Linked DNA regions of Homo sapiens: region 2 is linked to region 1. Evidence: promoter capture Hi-C in human tissues and cell types (Jung and others, 2019). All regions are on one chromosome and are shown on one strand. Each heading gives the region's core, a stretch centred on a gene start or on the middle of the fragment in contact. The rest is flanking DNA. Distances are from core to core; before and after follow the strand shown. Region 1 holds the start of AFAP1L1 (actin filament associated protein 1 like 1). Region 2 overlaps SH3TC2 (SH3 domain and tetratricopeptide repeats 2).

Region 1 (2,937 bases), core at 249-2,748:
AATTTGCCCATAAAAGCAATAGAGAAAATATTCCCGGCCAGGCTAGGTGGCTGGCGCCTGTAATCCCAGCACTTTGGGAGGCCGAGGCAGGTGGATCACCTGAGGTCAGGAGTTCGAGACCAGCCTGGCCAACATGGCGAAACGTCGTCTCTACTAAAAATACAAAAATTTGCCCGGAGTGATGGTGGGCGCCTGTAATTCCAGCTACTCAGGAGGCTGAGGCAGGAGAATTGCTTGAACCCGGGAGGCAGAGGTTGCAGTGAGCCGAGATCGCGCCACTGCACTCCAGCCTCGGCGACAAAGGGAGACTTTTCAAGAAAAAAAAAAAAGAAGAAAAGAAAATATTCCCAGTCCAGGAAAGTACAGGAGGGTCTTTCCCAGGCCTTTTGTTGCCTCCATACCTCTGTGGTAGCTGTTCCCTGTTCCAGAATGTTCTAAGTAGGGAACAGTGGTCAGCTCAAAGCTGAAAACCATGGCCTGGCCCATGGTGGGAGGAGCAGTGTCTAGGAGAACAATTGGTCCTGGACTTTATGAAGGGTCTTAAAGTCAGACATTTGATATTGTGTATAAATGAGTGAGACCTATTTTCACAGGGATATACTAATAAGGTGAAGAAGTTGACATTCTTCATACAGCTTTAAACTTAGATCCCATTACTGTTCCACACTGGTCATAGCAATATTTTCTACAATCTTGCGAAAAGTACACTTATATTGCACTGTATTTTGTATGCTAAAAGTATTCATTTCCACATTTTTTATCACCCTGTTCTGCATGTTTTCACGTGTTACTCATTTTTCTATTCTTTTTCTGAATTCTCCCAGATCCTCGTTATGTTTTCACGTTTTAGTACACAAGGAACCTCAAAAGTTGAAAGTGTCCCAAGCCCTTGCCCACCTTTCAGCAAGCCTCTCTTTCTCCCTTTCCCAGGTGCTTTTCTTTCTGAAGATCTTTGTTATTATTTAACTCCTCTTTCGCAACACCACTGACATTGCACCGGCATCGCCGCGGGCCCACTGTCTGGCTTAGAAGGTGCTCAAGAAAGACCCGCGGCGAATGGAGAAGACAAGCCCAAAGCCAGGAAATGGGTGGCGGCTGCAGGGAAGGGGGTTTTGATTCCCTAGGATAAAAACGCGCTCCAACAGTCTCCGCATTCCGGCATGGAGCCGGCTGAGGGGTGCGGTGGTAAGACCCCATCGCTAGCGGAGTGCAAGCAAAGCCGCACACCTCCTGGGTCCGGGCTGGGGCAGGCCGCGCGGGCGCGGGAACGAACGCGTGCGGACGGGGAAAAGGGTCCTCCAAGCCCAAGTGGGAGCGCCGCGGAGGGCGAGCGAGCGGCAGGGCGCGGCGGGGCGTGTGCGGCACCACGGGACAGCGGGCTGCGGCCCAGGGGGCGAGGCGTGCTCGGGTCTATTCCGGGAGCGGCTCTGAGGGGCGGGCGCGGGCGCGGGCGGGGCGGGGGCTGCCGGCGAGCATCCTGTCTGGGGGAGGGGACCGCAGAGAGCGCCGGCCGCTGGGCTGGCCTGAGAGCGCAGCGCGCCGGCCGCTACCAGCCGCGCCGGAGCCCCTGCGCCCTGCGGCCCGCTCCCCGGGGACCGGGCCGGCGCCATGGACCGAGGCCAGGGTAAGAGGGGCCGCGACGCCCGCACTTGTTGCGGCGCCGGGCGGGAAAGGGAGACTGGACGATCTGAAGCCGGAGAGGAGGAGGGAGAGAGGCGGGCGGTGGGGCGGGGGCTGAGGAACGCTCGGAGGGGACTGGGAGACGCGGCGCTTATGCAAAGGTGCCTTCGGCTGCCGGGACAACCCGGTGCGTGTCAACGCCCGTGTCCTGGGGCCAACTCGCCTCTCGTGTGTGAAATCAGAGTTTTCATAGGCTAACGATTTGTAACTTCATAAAAGATCCCCCTCTAGTTTCCGGAGGACAGCGAGCTCCTCCCACCTCATTCCACTCTAAAGGGGAAAACAAGGTGTACAGGTTCAACTCCCGAAACACCCGCTGTGGGCAGCCCCTAGGGAGAAGCTCTAGGGGACCGAAGTTTGCAGCTGCCTAGGGCATTGCGAGAAGGAGGAGCGCCGTGAGCAGGCGCGCGTGTGCATGCATGTGTGCGCCAGGGAGGGAGGAGGCGGGGGTGGTTCTATCCCGCACCAGCTGTGTCCTCGGCCCAGCCCTTCTCTCTGGACCAGCGACAAAGTTGGACTAGATGGTCTCCAAGGCACCTTGCCGACCCTTTTCCAGTGTATTTGGTAGACGTTTCACAGAAGTGGAGGGGACTTACTGAAATTGAGATTGACATAAGCCGAGAGGGCAGCATTCGTAGGGGGCTAGCGCACATTTTTTTCTGTTTGTTTTGTTTTGTTTGAGACGGAGTTTCGCTCTTGTTGCCCAGGCTGGAGTGAAGTGGCGCGATCTTGGCTCACTGCAACCTCCGCCTCCCGGGTTCAAGCGATTCTCCTACCTCAGCCTCCCGAATAGCTGGGATTAGAGGCATGCGCCACCACACCCGGCTAATTTTTGTATTTTTAACAGAGACGGGGTTTCACCATATTGGCCAGGCTGGTCTGGAGCTCCTGACCTCAGGTGATCAGCCGGCCCCGGCCTCTCAAAGTGCTGGGATTACGGGCGTGAGCCACCGCGCCCGGCAGCGCACATTTTAAGTAAAGGTCTAGACATGGCCTTTGGCAATGGCCAGATGGGCATGTGTGTGTCTGTAAAGAAGTGGCCTGCTTGGACATGTGAACAGTGTCAGAGGCTGGGAATCAGAACCCCAGGGTTTCAGTCTGCACCTCTGGGATCCAAAGAGATCACAGGTGTGACGGCACTAGATAAACTAGTGAGTGCTGTGCCAACAGGCGAAGTGTTGTTGTTGTTGCTGTTATTAATAATGGAAAATTCATTCCCCTCCCCACGATAATCTCACACCTCTCCCCCATCTGCCT
Region 2 (2,937 bases), core at 125-2,624, 230 kb before region 1:
ATGAATATGTCCAAAGACAAGGAGCTGGTAAGCCAGTGGAGGCACAAGCTGCACTCACATGGTCATGAATGCCTTTTGGGGACCCTGACTCCACAACTCTGTAAGCCATGTAGCTACTGTGCTTCCAGAAGACCTACCAATGGCCAGTCCCAAAGGCCTTTCTTTCCTCACTTGGCCCTGCTGTACCTCTCTGATGACAGCACAGGTGTCAGCCCCGCCTCCCCCGCAGCTTGTTTCTTCCTCTCTGTGGCTCCTCTGTTTCCTCTCTGCGTTCTCTCTTCCTCTGCTCTGTAAATGGAGGCATCCTCCAGGGTTCTTCCCCCATTCCTATTTTCCATCCTCTTTTTTCTTTCTCCCTTTCACTGGGACTTCTCACCAGAATGTATTGGATTTCATGTCAGGATTTAAAATCACCAGGACATTTAATGAGAGCTCACTGGATTTAATGTCAGGATTCTAAAGTTCCAGAGGGAAGGCCTTGGGTTCAGCTCCTTCATCCCTGGGGTCCTCTGTTCCCCCTGTGGTAACATGAAGGGGTGGTTCAGAGCAATGTTCTCACCTTGGTTGCCCACCAGCCCCACCTGGGGAGCTTTTATCAATATAATTGCCCAGCCTCCATCCAGACCAGTTACACAACAGCCTCTGGAGGCAGAACACAGGTGTCCATATTTGTAAAGCTCCTGGAATCTTTGACTTCCTGTCCATTGGTCCTCAGCAGTGGCCTTCCTCTCCATTCTCACCCTTTTCTAAGTGCCACCGTGGGCTTCTCGCTGGTCTCCTGCCTCCAGATTCCCCCTGATGATGCATGCCTCCCCCAAAGCCAGGTTTCATTTCCTAGAGAAAAGGTCCAGTCATATAATATGTCACCCTTGCTCAGAGACATGCAGTAGCTCCCCATTCTCTGCCAGGTTAAGGAAAGGGCCCTCACACAGGCATTCCCAGGTTTCCAGAGCATGGACCCACCTTTGCTGCACCAGTGACCTTCTGGTAACTTCCTCCAAACTACATGAGTCGTTCTTCAAGCACTGACTCACTTTCCTACCTATGACCTCTTTTCCCATCAACATCTGTTGAAATATTTTACATTGTGCAAAGCTTAATTCACATGTCCCCTTCTTCATGAAGTTCTCTTGATATCCTTTTCTTCCTTACAAGTCCCGATAGTTCTCCATACCTCTCCAGGAGCTCAGTGAGTGGTCTTCCTTGTTTATAGTTATTTGGACTCCCACATTTCTACATAGAAAAAAAATAACCTTCTGTCTCCTCCTCTCCCCACGAAGGGCAGGGCTTACAGGGAGCTTCTGCCCCTTGGTCTGCTCTCTTCATTGGCTATTTCCCACAAGAGAAAGAATTTAAGTCTCTGTTCAGATCGTTAGACATTTCTGGGGCCACATTTTCCCAGTGTAGGGCGCTATGTTGTGTCAGTGTTAGGAGCCAACTCTCCCTTTCCTCGTGTACTTCCTGCGCCCAGGCTTTCTACTGTTTCCTATCCCCACATAGGAAGCCCACTCCAAAAAGATGGAGCAATACCCGATATCTCTGTCCTTCCATGACAGGGTGGGTGGAGCAGGCTGATCACCTTCTCCTGATTGGCCAGGCAGATGGGTCTGCTCCTCAGAACCAGCCTTTCTGGATTCAAGGCAGAAAAGAGTAAGAGAAACACTCTGCCCTCCTAGCCAATGCTGAAGTCACACATTGGCATTCAGCTTGAAAGCTGAATGAGTGAAGATCTACATGGGACCCACCTCCCAGCCCTATGTGGGATCAGCATGCTGCTAATCTATTTCTCCCCGTGTGTGCCCTTCCTCTGAAGGGGCCCTGTGGTTAGACAGTGTGGGTAGCAGGATCCAAGTACCAAAACCACACCCTCAGTGCCTAACAGCATGCCCTTTGTCTTGGAGTTTTGCTTCCCTCCTTGCACAGAGGAAGTCCTCAGTGACCACCTGTTAAAATAAACTGAACTGACGCATTCTCTCCTTTCTATCACTCTCTGTATCAACCTTGGTGTCAGCATGTGCTTTTCTGGCTCCATGTCACCAGGGCACCCTCGAAGCTCAACTGCAAATCTGCTCAAAGAGGGGAGGGAACCCTGGGAAAGGGAGCCCAGCTCCAGGACATGCTCACTGTCAATACTCACATTGGGGAATAAGAATCAGGATCTATGTTCCTGGTGGGGACAAAGCCCACTTGTCCTGAACTTGTCGACTTTCCAATGAACCACTGAAGCCCAGGTATGACAAAGCCGATGATCTCAATGCTTTCTCCCTGGTAGAAATTCAGTTCATCCTTTTCTCCTGGCTCATAACCCGTCAAGGCCTTACAGCGTCCTCTGCCTGTGGAAAATAGCACACAGATCAGCTACAGAAGACATGAACAGCTGAGCCTCCCATCACCTTCCAATGCAATAGAAAATGAGGGGTTCCCAGACTTTAGAATGTCAAGGACCAGTAACATTTCACTCCCCTCCCCACCCAAAAATTGGCAGGAATGACACAGGACAATTTGCTTTTCATTTTGCCAAACTAGGACATATTTTTAAAAGAACTACAATCCACTTTCACCAAAGAAAAAATGTTTTAACAAACACAAAAAAAGATTCTCAGATAGCGGATATGCCTTAAAAATGAATAAACATAGCTTATGGGAAACTGGAAAGCTCACTGTATTGTCCTGGTTTGTCTGATTTTGCCACTGTAATGTAAATGCTTTGTCATGGTTGGCACAAATCCACAGACCAGTGTGTGAGAACCACTCGACCAGAGAAGCTCTCCATGTCCTTCCAGCTCCTTTGGCCTCTATGACCCTCAGTCTCCCCAACTGGAAAATGGGGATAATAGGAATACCTGCTGCTTATAAATATTAAAGAGAATCAAAGAGATACAGTGCACAATGCCTGGTACCTGGTCAACCCTCAATAAACATTAGCCTTATTACCAC

The links. The method cuts DNA at HindIII sites, captures the fragments that hold promoters and counts their contacts. A contact is called where the count stands out against the background at its distance.
Region 2: a fragment that was not itself captured here is called in contact with the fragment with the promoter of AFAP1L1 in region 1 in 1 of the 25 tissues and cell types used here (heart left ventricle).

What each region holds. Positions count from the first base shown.
Region 1 is chr5:149,270,361-149,273,297 of GRCh38, forward strand. AFAP1L1 (actin filament associated protein 1 like 1) reads left to right here and starts at 1,499. Exons shown (of 19, transcript NM_152406.4): 1 at 1,499-1,624. The coding sequence starts at 1,609. RefSeq lists enhancers at 1,478-2,017, 2,018-2,559, 2,560-2,937. The HindIII fragment of the contact is 7,342 bases long and covers 1-2,937 here.
Region 2 is chr5:149,036,158-149,039,094 of GRCh38, forward strand. It overlaps SH3TC2 (SH3 domain and tetratricopeptide repeats 2), which reads right to left. Exons shown (of 17, transcript NM_024577.4): 8 at 2,138-2,333. Among named protein-coding and RNA genes, the nearest start is that of MIR584, 25 kb to the right of the region's middle. The HindIII fragment of the contact is 8,887 bases long and covers 1-2,937 here.